4 separate regions of the Homo sapiens genome follow, and regions 2, 3 and 4 are each linked to region 1. Evidence: promoter capture Hi-C in 16 types of primary human blood cells and fetal thymus (Javierre and others, 2016). All regions are on one chromosome and are shown on one strand. The core of a region is centred on a gene start or on the middle of the fragment in contact, and the rest is flanking DNA. Distances in the headings are between cores, read along the strand shown.

Evidence for each region. The method cuts DNA at HindIII sites, captures the fragments that hold promoters and counts their contacts. A CHiCAGO score of 5 or more calls a contact.
Region 2: a fragment that was not itself captured here is called in contact with the fragment with the promoter of KLK1 in region 1 in 1 of 17 cell types (total CD8 T cells); the score reaches 5.1 in total CD8 T cells.
Region 3: a fragment that was not itself captured here is called in contact with the fragment with the promoter of KLK1 in region 1 in 1 of 17 cell types (naive CD8 T cells); the score reaches 5.1 in naive CD8 T cells.
Region 4: the fragment with the promoter of SIGLEC9 here is called in contact with the fragment with the promoter of KLK1 in region 1 in 3 of 17 cell types (naive CD8 T cells, fetal thymus and activated CD4 T cells); the score reaches 6.9 in naive CD8 T cells.

The regions. Positions count from the first base shown.
Region 1 is chr19:50,822,028-50,825,263 of GRCh38, reverse strand. KLK1 (kallikrein 1) reads left to right here and starts at 1,477. Exons shown (of 5, transcript NM_002257.4): 1 at 1,477-1,561. The coding sequence starts at 1,516. The HindIII fragment of the contact is 16,614 bases long and covers 1-3,236 here.
Region 2 is chr19:50,522,122-50,525,415 of GRCh38, reverse strand. The region is part of intron 2 of LRRC4B (leucine rich repeat containing 4B); the gene reads left to right. All of the region lies in intron 1 of LOC124904747 (a long non-coding RNA gene), which reads right to left. Among named protein-coding and RNA genes, the nearest start is that of ASPDH, 9.9 kb to the right of the region's middle. The HindIII fragment of the contact is 1,201 bases long and covers 1,426-2,626 here.
Region 3 is chr19:50,334,570-50,337,601 of GRCh38, reverse strand. All of the region lies in intron 1 of LOC105372437 (a long non-coding RNA gene), which reads right to left. It also overlaps the pseudogene NAPSB. Among named protein-coding and RNA genes, the nearest start is that of KCNC3, 6.7 kb to the right of the region's middle. RefSeq lists an enhancer at 3,032. The HindIII fragment of the contact is 4,846 bases long and covers 1-3,032 here.
Region 4 is chr19:51,122,927-51,126,182 of GRCh38, reverse strand. SIGLEC9 (sialic acid binding Ig like lectin 9) reads right to left here and starts at 1,277. Exons shown (of 7, transcript NM_014441.3): 1 at 788-1,277; 2 at 308-586; 3 at 55-102. The coding sequence starts at 1,208. The HindIII fragment of the contact is 17,590 bases long and covers 1-3,256 here.

The DNA of each region.
Region 1 (3,236 bases), core at 228-2,727:
CAGTTAAAGGACCTAACAGACACTAGATTACCAAGAATGGCTTTTTCTTTAAGGTTTAGTTCTGGGCCGGGCATGGTGGCTCACACCTGTAATCCCAGCACTTTGGGAGGCCAAGGCGGGCGGCTCACTTGAGGTCAGGAGTGCAAGACCAGCCTGGCCAACATGGTGAAACCCCATCTCTACTAAAAATACTAAAAAAATTTAGCCGGGCGTGGTGGCACACGACTGTAATCCTAGCTACTTGGGAGGGTGATGTGGGAGGATCGCTTGAACTTAGGAGGCAGGAGTTGCAGTGAGCCGAGATCGCGCCACTGCACTCCAGCCTGGTGACAGAGCAAGACTCCATCTCAGAAAAAAAAAAAAAAAAAAAAAGATTTAGTTCTGGGCTTCCTGGTAGCCATGGCAAAAAGGCAAATACTGTCCTTTCCTTAGCCAGGTCCCTGATATACAGCAGAGGCTGGAACTCTGAGCTGCTTTGATTTTACCAAAAAGCCAAGACAACCTGTTGGAAGCCTATGGGTTTACCATTGAGGCTGCAGGAATCTAGTTCCTAATTATCTTCAGAGACCACAAAATGTGATGTTCAAGGTCGCTGAATGTTGAAGTACATGAACCTGGCTCGTGAGACCTAAATATTGTACTGGTGGTGGGGGGGAAGGGTCATTGGAATCTGTGGTTAGCCTGATCTTGACCTGGGAGGGAAGGTTGTCCAGATCTCTGGGACTTTGGAGGACAGGACGTTGAGCACCCATAACTGGGAGCAAGAAGTGGGAGGCTCATTGAGACCCCAGCATTGTTTGGGAGGGACACTGGATTTTGTAATGCTAAAGAACTTACCCTGGGAGACCCCTGAAACTTCACATTCCTGGATCTGGAGGCACTAGGAATGTGGTGATGTGTACCCCAAAATTTTATTATGAAAGGAACAGTAGCTTTGGGGACCTAGGTCCTGGGTCTGGGAGTGCAAGAACCAGGGCATTCTGAAGGCCAAGGCTTATATTTCAGGGGGAACTGGCAGCTGAGATGCTAGTATCTTGGCTCCGAGTGGTGCAGGGAATCAGAGCCCTAACTGCTGGTGTTTGAGGGCACCAGGTCTGGGGGTGCAGGGCCTTAATTGAGACTGAGGTATATGGGGCTTTGTACCAGGGGTCACTGATTCCTCCGTCTTCCTGTTTCTGCTTCCCCTCAGTCCCCCCTTGCCTCACTGGCTGCTCCCCAGAGCAAAGCCCCAGAGCCACAGGCCCTGCCCCACCTGGCTTCAACCCCAGGAATGCGTCCAGCGTGATCCAGGGCCTGCAGAACAGGTGCTGGTTCTCCCTCCCCGTCTACAGCTCTGGGGATCGGAGGGGGGGGGGGCAATTGTCCAGCCCCCAGGCAACAGGGGAAGGGCCTTGGCCAACATCTGGGTGCCAGCAGGGCAGGGGTGGGGCTCTGAGGGGATAAGGGCTTTTAAAAGCCTCCCCAGGGAGGTTCCCCAGTTCCTCCACCTGCTGGCCCCTGGACACCTCTGTCACCATGTGGTTCCTGGTTCTGTGCCTCGCCCTGTCCCTGGGGGGGACTGGTGAGACAGTGGGGGGATGTGGGAGGGGGAACGGGCCCTGATTCTCTTGCTGGCCTCACATCCCCCCCCGATAAGACCTTCCCCTCCAACACCCCACCCTCATCCCTCTGGCCCACAGTCTATCCTAGTCCGGGGTGCCCCGGCTCTTATCTATCTTGCGCGGCCCCACCCTAAACTTCCACCCCCGCTCCTCCATGTTGTCATAGTGCTCACTCCCACACCAGATTCCTGCTCCTCCCAGGAAGCCTCAGTACTTTCTCCTCTTCCCTAGCCAACGCCCTGTCCCACCGCTTTACCAAAGGGGCAGATTCTGGGCCATCTCTGTCTCTCTCTGGAGGACCCCAACCCTCCCATGGGCTTCCCCCACCCCACAGGACTCTGATCATCCCCTCCTGCCCCCTAGTTCCCTGCGGCCACCTATTTGGCTCCTGAGTCTACAAATCCCACCACACTCCAGTGACTTTTTCCATCCAGCTGTCCGCTCTCAACTGTGTCCTCCAGACCCTGACATCTGGTCTCCCCAGTCCTTCCAGGGTCCCCCAAATTTCACCAGAAAACCCTGCTTCCCAAACTGGCATGTGGGATCCCCCATCTGGTATGGGGGGGGGTCTGCAAATGTCCCTTCCCACCCAGCACCCCCAGCTCTCCCAGGAAAAACACCACACCCTCCCACCACATGCTCCTTTCCTTGGGGAAGTTCCATCCCGCCCCAGGCCCCAGCCCTTCTCTGCCTGAATTGTTCCTACACAGCTCTGGTTTTCTGGAACCCCACCCCAAGGATCCTGAATGCCTTCTCAGCCAGCGCTTCTGCCCTGGCCTCCCCCAAGTCAGTATGTGATTCTACAACCTCACGTCAAGTGGGTCCTGCATTGCATTCCCACAGCTGCTTGGCGCCTGTTCTCACCACTTCTCCAATCCTCTTCCTAGGATTGCCTCCAAGAGGACCCCATATCCTTCCAGTACCCTCAGACCATGAACCCCATCCCCATGAGAAACGAAGATCCCATCCTTCACCCTGTCCGAGAAGGACTGCCACTCACGCCTCCCTCCTCCTGAGCCCCGTCCCAGTCCTGACCGCAACTGTGTTCTCAGGGCCCCAACCTCCCCTCAGATTGCCATTCCTGGTTCACAGGAAGGACCCCAAAACCTCTCGGAAGCCCACCTCTAGCCTTAACCATAGCCCTTTCTTTTACCCTTTAACCAGGAAGCCCTGAAATCTAACTGTCCCAGCCAAGCTGGCCCCTTCCAACCCCAATGTAGGGACCCCAAGTCACCCCCAAACTCTTCAGTCCAGATGCTCTTCTTTACCTCTCAGACCTGGTTCCCTAAAGCTGCATCCTTTCCTGAACCTCAAAAGCCCAACCCAGGTCCTGTTTCCCTAGCCTAGGAGCCCCTTAGCCCTCCAGATTCTTCCTCAGTGAGCCTCTGATCCTGTCCCACCCTTGGCGCCTTGATCCCTGGTTTCCAGAATCCCTTTCCACTCCCCTAACCCACCACCTCCCATCCCCCAGCCCCAGACCCCAAATGACCTGACGCCCAGATGCAGTGTCTGCTCCAGACACTGTCTCCTGTCTCCTACCCTGATCCCTGGAGGCTGCTCTACTGTCAGAGCACAAAATCTCCCCACCAGGTCCAGCCACCACTCCAAAAGCCCAGGGAACAGTCCAGAGTCCCA
Region 2 (3,294 bases), core at 777-3,276, 300 kb after region 1:
AAAAAAAAAGTACGGTTCTTGGCCCTAAGAGCCGCCTTTCAGTGGACGGCTCAGGGCTGTAATCCCAAGGGCATGGTACAAGTTTCTCAACGCCAACGATAACGATAACAATGAGAATGACGACGTGCTGAGCACCCCTGAACACTGGGACCTCATCTCCTCTCCCTCACCCTCTGAAGTGCTTTTCATCATCCTCCTCGTGGTAAGAGTGAGCCCAGAGGTACAGAGAGCTCAAGTGACAGGCCCTACAACCAGGACGGGGGAGGCGGGATTTGAACAGGGCTCTGCTCTTCACACTACACCCGTGACCTCTGTTTCCGTGTCTGTCCACGGGGAACGGCGATGGGTGGGTGTGAGGTGGCCGAGCGAGACGGGGAGGGGCGCAGGCTCCGGCCAGCCCTGCCCAGCTCTGCCATGGAGCAAGCCACTTCTTTAGGCTCCTGTTTCCTCCTTTCTAAAACGGGGCGATCACAGTCCTTGTTCTTAGGGCTGCTGGATGGACAAAAGGTGACTGTGTCCACAGAGCGTCCCTGGGCACCGAGTAAACCCGCAGCATCTCACAGGGCAGCCGCCAGCATCGGGGCTGCTGGCTGGGCTCGGGGACTGCATGCGTTGCTACTGAGAGGTGCCCTGGACGCCCTGGGTGTAAAACACATGTTGGGTTTCCTTGGATTTCGAAGCTCCACCATAAAGAGTGTAAAATGGCTCAATCGCAAGTTTGCATCTGATGACAGGTTCAAATGAGAGTATTTTGGACCTGTTGAGCTAAATAAATATATTAGTAAAGTTGATTTCACCTGTTTGGTTTTTTCTTTATTATTATTTCAATGTGGCTTCTAGGAAATTTAAAATTACACATGTGGGCTGGGTGTGGTGGCTCACACCTATAATCCCAGCACTTTGGGAGGCTGAGACGGGAGGATCGCTTGAGGCCAGGAGTTTGAGACCAGCCTGGGCAACATAGGGAGACCCCATCTCTACAAAAAATTAAAATAAAATAAAATTAGCCAGGTGTGCTGGCACGTGCCTGTAGTCCCAGCTACTCAGGAGGCTGAGGCGAGCAGATCACTTGAGCCCAGACGGTCAAGGCTGCAGTGAGCCGAGACTGCGCCACTGCACTCCAGCCTGGGTGACACAGCAAGACTCTGTCTTAAAACAAAACAACCAAACAAACATTACACACGTGTTCACATTCTATTTCTATTGGACAGCACCGACATACATTATTATTATTTTATGATTCTGCCTATGCCACAGATTCTACCATTTCTTACGCTGTTTGCCTCTCAGGTATATCTGGGTTTGGTTTTGTTTTTATTCCTGCTTACTGTAAAAGTAATTTTTCCTCATTGAGGAAAAAATATCACACAAGAATAAAAATTGTCCATAATTCCCAACAGATAAAGTTCACTACTAAGAAAAGCTTGGAGTATGTCCTTCCAGTTTTTTTTTTTTTTTAGACAGAGTCTCACTCTGTCACCCAGGCTGGAGTGCAACTGGGCGATCTTGGCTCACTGCAACCTCCGCCTCCCGGGTTCAAGAGATTCTCCTGCCTCAGCCTCCCAAGTAGCTGGGATTACAGGCACCTGCCACCATGCCTGACTAATTTTTTGTATTTTTAGTAGAGATGGGGTTTCGCCATGTTGGCCAAGCTGGTCTCGAAATCCTGACCCAGGTGATCCACCTGCCTTGGCCTCTCAGAGTGCTAGGATTACAGGCATGAGCCACCATGCCCGGCCTCTTTTTTGTTTTTAAGATGGAGTCTCACTGTGTTGCCCAGGCCAGAGTGCAGTGGCGCGATCTCGGCTCACTGCAACCTCCGCCTCCCTCTTGCCTCAGTCTCCCGAGTAACTGGGATTACAGGCACCCCCCACCACCCCCGGCTAATTTTTGTATTTTTAGCAGAGACGGAGTTTTATCATGTTGGCCAGGCTGGTCTCAAACTCCCAACCTCAACTGATCTGCCCGCCTCGGCCTACCTAAGTGCTGGGATTACAGGTGTGAGCCACCACGCCCGGCCTCTTTTTCTCTTTTTTCTTTTGGTGCATATACTCTGATACCTAATTCTTCAGCTTCTTTGTGATGACACAGGATGCATCTGAGGTTCTCAGTTTCCTCCGTTAATACTGTAACACCGCATTCCCCCAGTGTCCGTCCCCTTCTCCCTGGCACACACCACTATCTGGGCTTTGCAGATATGATCCAATGGCTGTGTGGCCTTCTGGGCCTCAGTGCACCCGGCGTGGTCATCAGTAGTGAGGACCCTGTGAGCTCCTGCCTCCCGTGCTCTGACCCAGCACTGCCCCTCCCGTGGACCCCAGCTCCAGCCCTGAGAGGCGGCAGCCAGGGTCAGAGGTCAAGAGCCAGGACTCTGGAACCAGAGGGCCTGGATCCAGTCCCAACTCTGCTGTCCACTTCTGTGTGACCTTGGGCAAGTCACTGCACCTCCCTGGGCCTAATTCATCATCCTTCGTGTGAAACTCTTGAGGTCTGATGCGTTTTGACATTCCGATATTAGAAACATAGTAATAGATAGTATAGGTTTTATAATATCTTAGTGGTCTTGAAACATGGGAATTTCTAGAATGAAATGTTTGGATAGTCACGAGTGGGATCAATAAAAGCTTTACTTTCATGTGGCTGGGTGAGGTGGCTCACGCCGGTAATCCCAGCACTTTGGAAGGCCAAGGCGGGTGGATCACCTGAGGCCAGGAGTTCGAGACCAGCCTGGCCAACATGGCAAAACCCTGTCTCTACTAAAAATACAAAAAATTAGCCAAGCGTGTTGATGCGTGCCTGTAATCCCAGCTACTTGTGAGGCTGAGGCAGGAGAATCACTTGAACCCGGCAGGCAGAGGTTGCAGTGAGCCGAGATCACGCCTCTGCACTCCAGGCTGGGCGACAGAGCGAGACTCCATCTCAAAATAAATAAATAAATAAATAAATAAATAAATAATAAATAAAATAGCTTCACATGAGTTCTGATCGGGTTTTGCCACCAAGTGGGATTTGGTGTCAAAGTTTGGAAAAATCTGATTGTTAGGGCCTTAAGAATTTTGGAATTGCAGGTATCGAATAAGGACTGGTAATAGTGCCCATCTCACAGGGCAGTTTGGAGGATTAAAAGAGTTATTACCCACAAAATGTTTAGAACAGTGTCTGGCACCAAAGATGTGTTCAATGTGTCTTAGTTGCTGGTATTACTATTTTCATTTTGTATATTTATTTATTTATTTTGGGGACGGGATCTCCCTCTGTCACGCAGGCTGGAGCTCAGTGGCACGATCACAGTTC
Region 3 (3,032 bases), core at 182-2,681, 490 kb after region 1:
TCCCCAAGTTGGGGGCCCCATCCCCTGGGGACAAGCCTGCCTCGGTACCTCTCTCCAAATTCCTGGATGTGAGTCACAGCCCTACACAGCCCCCACTCCTGTGCCCTTGAGCCAAACTCTTCATTGACTCTGTCTCTTCTTTTGCCTCCTCAGGCCCAGTATTTTGGGGAAATTGGGCTGGGAACGCCTCCACAAAACTTCACTGTTGCCTTTGACACTGGCTCCTCCAATCTCTGGGTCCCGTCCAGGAGATGCCACTTCTTCAGTGTGCCCTGCTGTGAGCTTCTATGTGGGAGAATAAGGCTGAATGGGGGTGAAGGGAGAAGGCGGGGCTGGGCCTCAGCTTCCCAAAGGTTTTTGAGGAACTGTTCTTTTCTGACACCCTCAAAGGTCAGAAGGTTAAAGGGGCAGAAGGCATTCGGAAAGCTCCCCTCCCACAGTGACACCTCTCTGACTTCTGACCTAGGGTTCCACCACCGCTTCAATCCCAATGCCTCCAGCTCCTTCAAGCCCAGTGGGACCAAGTTTGCCATTCAGTATGGAACTGGGCGGGTAGATGGAATCCTGAGTGAGGACAAGCTGACTGTGAGTGGCCTTTGACTCCAGGAAGCCTCGAGCCTGGGAGAACCCTGTTGTCTAAGATCATCTGGCTTAGGGAGGGGCTTGAGGTGCAGGGGCTTCCTGAGCCGATGGATGGGGCTTCTCAAGGAGGGGGAGGGGTTCCTGGGTGAAGGGATAGGAATTCTCTCAAGTCCAGAGGCAAAGTTTGCTAAGCAGTTGGGGGCTTGGGTCCAGATGTCCCCAGACCTGGGATTAATGCTTTGGTTTGGGAGACCTCAGGACATGTGGTTATTGTCCTCCCAAAAGTAACTGGTCACATCTCAATCTACCCCTAGATTGGTGGAATCAAGGGTGCATCCGTGATTTTCGGGGAAGCTCTGTGGGAATCCAGCCTGGTCTTCACTGTTTCCCGCCCCGATGGGATATTGGGCCTCGGTTTTCCCATTCTGTCTGTGGAAGGAGTTCGGCCCCCGCTGGATGTACTGGTGGAGCAGGGGCTATTGGATAAGCCTGTCTTCTCCTTTTACTTCAACAGGTGCTGGGGAGGGTGCACCTATCTATGAGTCCTATTCCTCAGAAGGAAGTGAGGCCCTCCTTCAGGAAGTCTCTTACTCCATAAAGAAAGTCCCAGTTCAGGCACGGTGGCTCATGCCCGTAATCCCAGCAATTTGGGAGGCTGAGGCAGATTGATCACCTGAAGTCAAGAGTTCCAGACCAGCCTGGCTAACATGGTGAAACCCCATCTGTACTAAAACTATAAAAATTAGCTGGGTGCGGTGGCACATGCCTGTAATCCCAGCTACTTGAGAGGCTGAGGCAGGAGAATTGCTTGAATCCGGGAGGTGGAGGTTGCAGTGAGCCGAGATCGCACCACTGCTCTCCAGTCTGGGTGACAGAGAGAGACCGTCTCCAAAAAAAAAAAAAAAAAAAAAAAATCAATCCCACCCTTCATTCAGGAAGTAGCCACCTACCTAACAGAAGAAACACCTCAACCCTATTCATAAGCCCCAGAGCTTAAGTGACAACTTAAGACATATTAAAGAAACTCACCAACAGTTCAATATGCTGAGTTTCAAAATCAAACTAGGAAATTCTATGCCCCACCCAACCAAATACTCAGGAACCTTCTCTTCACCATAAAGCTCAAATCCCATTTGAGAACACTGACCAGAAGTCAGGAAATGCCTGATTGAATTCACGAAGCCCCACCCACCTGGTAGGAAGGTCAATCTTATGCTCAGAAGTCCCACCCACCACCCGAGAAGTCTTCACTTTCCCTCCCAGGGCCCATCACACACAGTCCAATGCCCACTCAGTTACCCTGACATCCAACCCACTCAAGAAGTTCCACCTAGCTCTCGGTAGGTCCCACTCATTTACATCTTCCAGGAAGTTTCCATCCCCGTTCCCATCACTCTCAGCCAGCTCAGGAAGTCTAACACCTTTCTAGATACCACAACAGGCAATTCAGAAAGTCTATGCACCTTCCCAGGAAGCCACCCCACTCCTGTACAAGTCACACCTTCGAGCCAATTCTGAGACTCCACTGGTCTGCTTGGTTACTATGATATTCAGCTCAGGAATTTCCCCCAAAAGCTCTACCTTCCACAGCCAAATGAAGAAGTCTCCTCTCCACTTCAGGAAGTATCCATCATCCTAAAGTCCTAACTTCCATCAAGAAAAGCACCATTTCCCTTCATTTCTTGTTTCCAGTCCCAACATCTCGGCCCTGCCTGCATTCCACTGCCCCAACTAGAACCCCAAAAATGACCCAATTGGCAGGAAGTCCCATCCCTGGCCATTCCTAGGGCTGGCGGGGGAGGGCTGGCGACAATGACCTCTACACTCTGCCCCTGCAGGGACCCTGAAGTGGCTGATGGAGGAGAGCTGGTCCTGGGGGGCTCAGACCCGGCACACTACATCCCACCCCTCACCTTCGTGCCAGTCACAGTCCCCGCCTACTGGCAGATCCACATGGAGCGGTGAGGGACTTGGTCTCCTGGGTCTGGAGCTGGAGGCCTGGACTCCTAGGACCCTGCCTCTAATGACTGCTTCCTTCCCCCTCAGTGTGAAGGTGGGCTCACGGCTGACTCTCTGTGCCCAGGGCTGTGCTGCCATCCTGGATACAGGCACACCTGTCATCGTAGGACCCACTGAGGAGATCCGGGCCCTGCATGCAGCCATTGGGGGAATCCCCTTGCTGGCTGGGGAGGTGAGGTCCCAGTCTCTGGTGGGTGTGTCCTGGGGAAGATGATGGCAATTCCATGGCGAACACTGCGGCCTGAGGATGGGAAGCAGGTAGCTAGAGCGTATCCAGGACAGAGGGGACTGGGCTTCTTAAGTGACATGCCAGAGAGTGGTGGGAGGAAGCAAAGATACTTCCCAAGTGTCTATGCTAAGTGGCTCAGTGGATGGTGAAGTAGGGGTGGGAGTGGGGGGGGGGTTGTTGGGGGAGATGATAATGCAGTTTT
Region 4 (3,256 bases), core at 28-2,527, 300 kb before region 1:
ATCCTGACCTGAAGGCCCTGCTCCTCCAGCCCCAGGGAGGGAGCTCCATCCTACCTGTGCCGTCTCCTTGGAAGACAGTCATGGTCAAGTTCTGAGGCGGGTCTGGGACAGAAAGACATGGAGACCCGCATCACTGTGAGGGCTGGGGACACTGGCCCTGTCTGTCCCCAGGAGCCGCATAAACAGGGAAGGCAGAGCCAGTGTCCTCCTGACCCCACCACCAGCCCAGATTCCGGGACCCAGCACCCAGTGTCCAGGCTTGACGCTCACCCCATCAGGGACCCAGGCGTCCCGGCCCAGCACTCACAGGACACGTTGAGATGGACGGTCTTGTTCGTGGTCACGCTGGCCCCAGGGAAGGTCACCTGACAGGTGAGGCTGGTGCCATGGTCCTGGGGCTGTGGGATGAGGGTGAGCACCGAGGAGCGGGTGGTGGAGGGGTCCAGGGGGGACACGGAGGTCCCTATCCAGGAGATCATAGGGGGTGTCCCCTGCTCACAGGCCCAGGGCACAGAGCAGGTCAGATTCTGGGGGCAGCCGGACTCCAGGGTGCCTGGGATGAGGATGTTGGGCCTGTGGGTCAAGGCTGGTGAAGAGAGGGGGACTCAGGATCAGGTCAGAGGATCCATGGTGCAGCCCTGGGGGGAGCTCAGGCTCTGGTCCAGCTCCTGCCCTGAGCCAACTCGCTTCACCCTAAGCCCTCTCCTGGGGCAGGGGCTCCATCCCAGCCTTTCCCTGCCGCCCCCATGACCTTTCCCTGTGGCCTTTCCTGGAGCCTGTGCCTTACCTGTCACATTCACAGAGAGCCGGTGATGTTTATAATTCCATTTTATACTTCCTTTCTCCATACGAAAGAAGTATCTCCCCGCATCACTTCTTCTGGCATCTCTGATGCTCAGGGTGCAATTCTTGGTATGTGGGTCCCCAAGGAGGTGGAATCGGTCCCGAGTCTCCTCCCACACTGCCCGAGCTGGGTTGTTTGTGGCCACTGGAGCATCCTGGTCTGTATTGGCCCCTTCCCGGAACCAGTAGCCATGAACTACTGGGCCAGGGTAAATCCAGCCATGCGAGGGGTAGGAGAAGGAGCAGGGCACATGGACACACAGGCCTTCCTGCACCGTCACGGAACTCTGCATCGTCAGCAGTTTACTTGTCTGTCCTTCCGCCCTCTCCCTCCCCCAGAGCAGGGGCAGCAGCAGCAGCAGCATGTCTGGGGTTAGAGGTGCCAGGGCCGCGAGGGAACGTCTGTTCCTCAGGGTTCTTCTCTCAGGAACTGCGGGCTCAAGACTTAGAGGAGGCCCTACAGGAAGACAGGGGCGAGGTCGGAACAGTGACCTCCTCAGAGGAGGAACTTTACACCCAGACACTGTCAGGCCCGGGTCAGCCCTGGGAGATCCACCGTCCACCACCCCATGTTCACTCCTGGGTCCCTGAGGCCAGAGCGGGAGACAGACTCACCCAGATTCCCACCCCATGCAGGGCCCACCCCACCTCCTGCCTCCCTCTCAATGCCCTTCCCCTTAGGTGACATTTTCTGCAGGGTGAAAATGAGTCCCATCTGGCCAGACCCCTGAGTCAGAGGCTGTGGATATCTGCGTAGCTCAGAGGTGGGACTTGGGGCCATGAGAGATGGGGGTGCAGGTGGGGTGAGCAGGCAGCCTCTCATCCCCCCCAAGCAAGCACGAGGTGGGCACCCCCTTTCTGCACAACGAGGTCAACACAGCAGAGCTGGACACTGTCCCCAAGGGGTCACTGTGCGGAGGGGAGACATGGAGGCTCCTGACGTCTGAGCTGTCCACGGCAGGAGCTTCAGTTGGGGGGCACAGGCAGGATGGGGTCACTCTCCCGTAGGTCAGGGGTTCAATCTCAGGAGGACTGAGCAGAGGGACATGGGGCTGTGGAGGTGAGGATTCTATGTGTTGATACACGCCAAGGACACAGAGGGGAGCCTGGCTCGCAGGAGGTCTGGGAAACTGAGGCTGTGACTGTTGTACTGTGGGGCTTGGAAGGGAGGAAATTCGGAAGAAAAGGGGCAGATTTCAAAAGGGAAGATATTTCTCCTTTCCTCACTGCACCACGAAGGGTTTCTTCACCACCGATGTCTCGCTCAGCCACACTTCCCTGGTTACTCCAGAACATGAGGGATCAGCTGGCCCTGGGGCTTTGCTTCTGCAAGCTCTGCTCCCAGGGGTCCCGGTGAACAGGAGATGTGGAGTGAGGACACCAGCCCCGGGGCATGCACCCTCCGCGATGGGCAGGATTTCATGGGAGAAGAAACATGCACCTGAATTCAGCAGAAGATTTTTTGTAACTGTGTGGCTGGGCTGGGAGGAACTGGGAGTATCCTGTGTGGTGGAGCCTCCTTAGACCGATGTCAGTTTTCTAGAAATATTTTTGGGAGAAATATAAGCCATATAGATAAAAATGTCTTCCCCCCAAGAAAAAATCTCAGCGGTTTACACATATGAACATGCTTAGAGAAACAGAACACTGGGGATGCCGCAACACCTCCTCTTTGTTACCCCACTTCCTGTCAGCCACACCCCACTTCCTCCTGAAGCAGCCCCAGCCTCACTTTAACGCTAATGGTCTCCATGCTTTTCTAGGTAGTTTTATCATCTGTGCACGTTGCCGTGAATACCTCAGGCCCCCATGTTTGCCCAGTCGCTCCCTGGGAAGTTGCAGCATCTCAACTGCAATGGTCAGAAGGGCTGAGCCATGGCTGACAGTGTTGTCCTGCATCTGTTCTGCAGGGCTGGGTGTCCACATCTGAGTTCTGTCTTGAGCAGGAGGGGCTCAGTCAGGCCTCTCAGCACTGCTCCCCTGGGGCCCTCCACACCTGCAGAGCCAACACGGGCCTCAGATTAGCATCGGCCACTTCAATTCTAACTCAGGCGGGACAGGACAGCTCAGCCCCACCTGGAACTCGGGGAACAATCCTTCGGCTTCCCTAGAAAAGAGCAGGCCTGCTCACCTGGAGTAGTAGCTCCAGGTGAGGCCATGGGGGTTGGGGGGAAGCCAGTGCCCAGGATGGCCCCCTGATCAGGTGAGAACCAGGGGCCAGAAGCCCTCCTGCTTTTCACTCACACATCTGTAGCCAGAGGGGCTTCCTGGGAAAGGGTAGAAGCGTGTGAGATTCTGTTCCCAGGCCTCCACCCCTCTGACAGCCCAAACACCCGACTAGGCTGCCTGCCTCAGCAGCTGTCCTGCAACTCACTCTGCACAGAGGCTCAGGGAAATGTGCTGAAATCGCAGT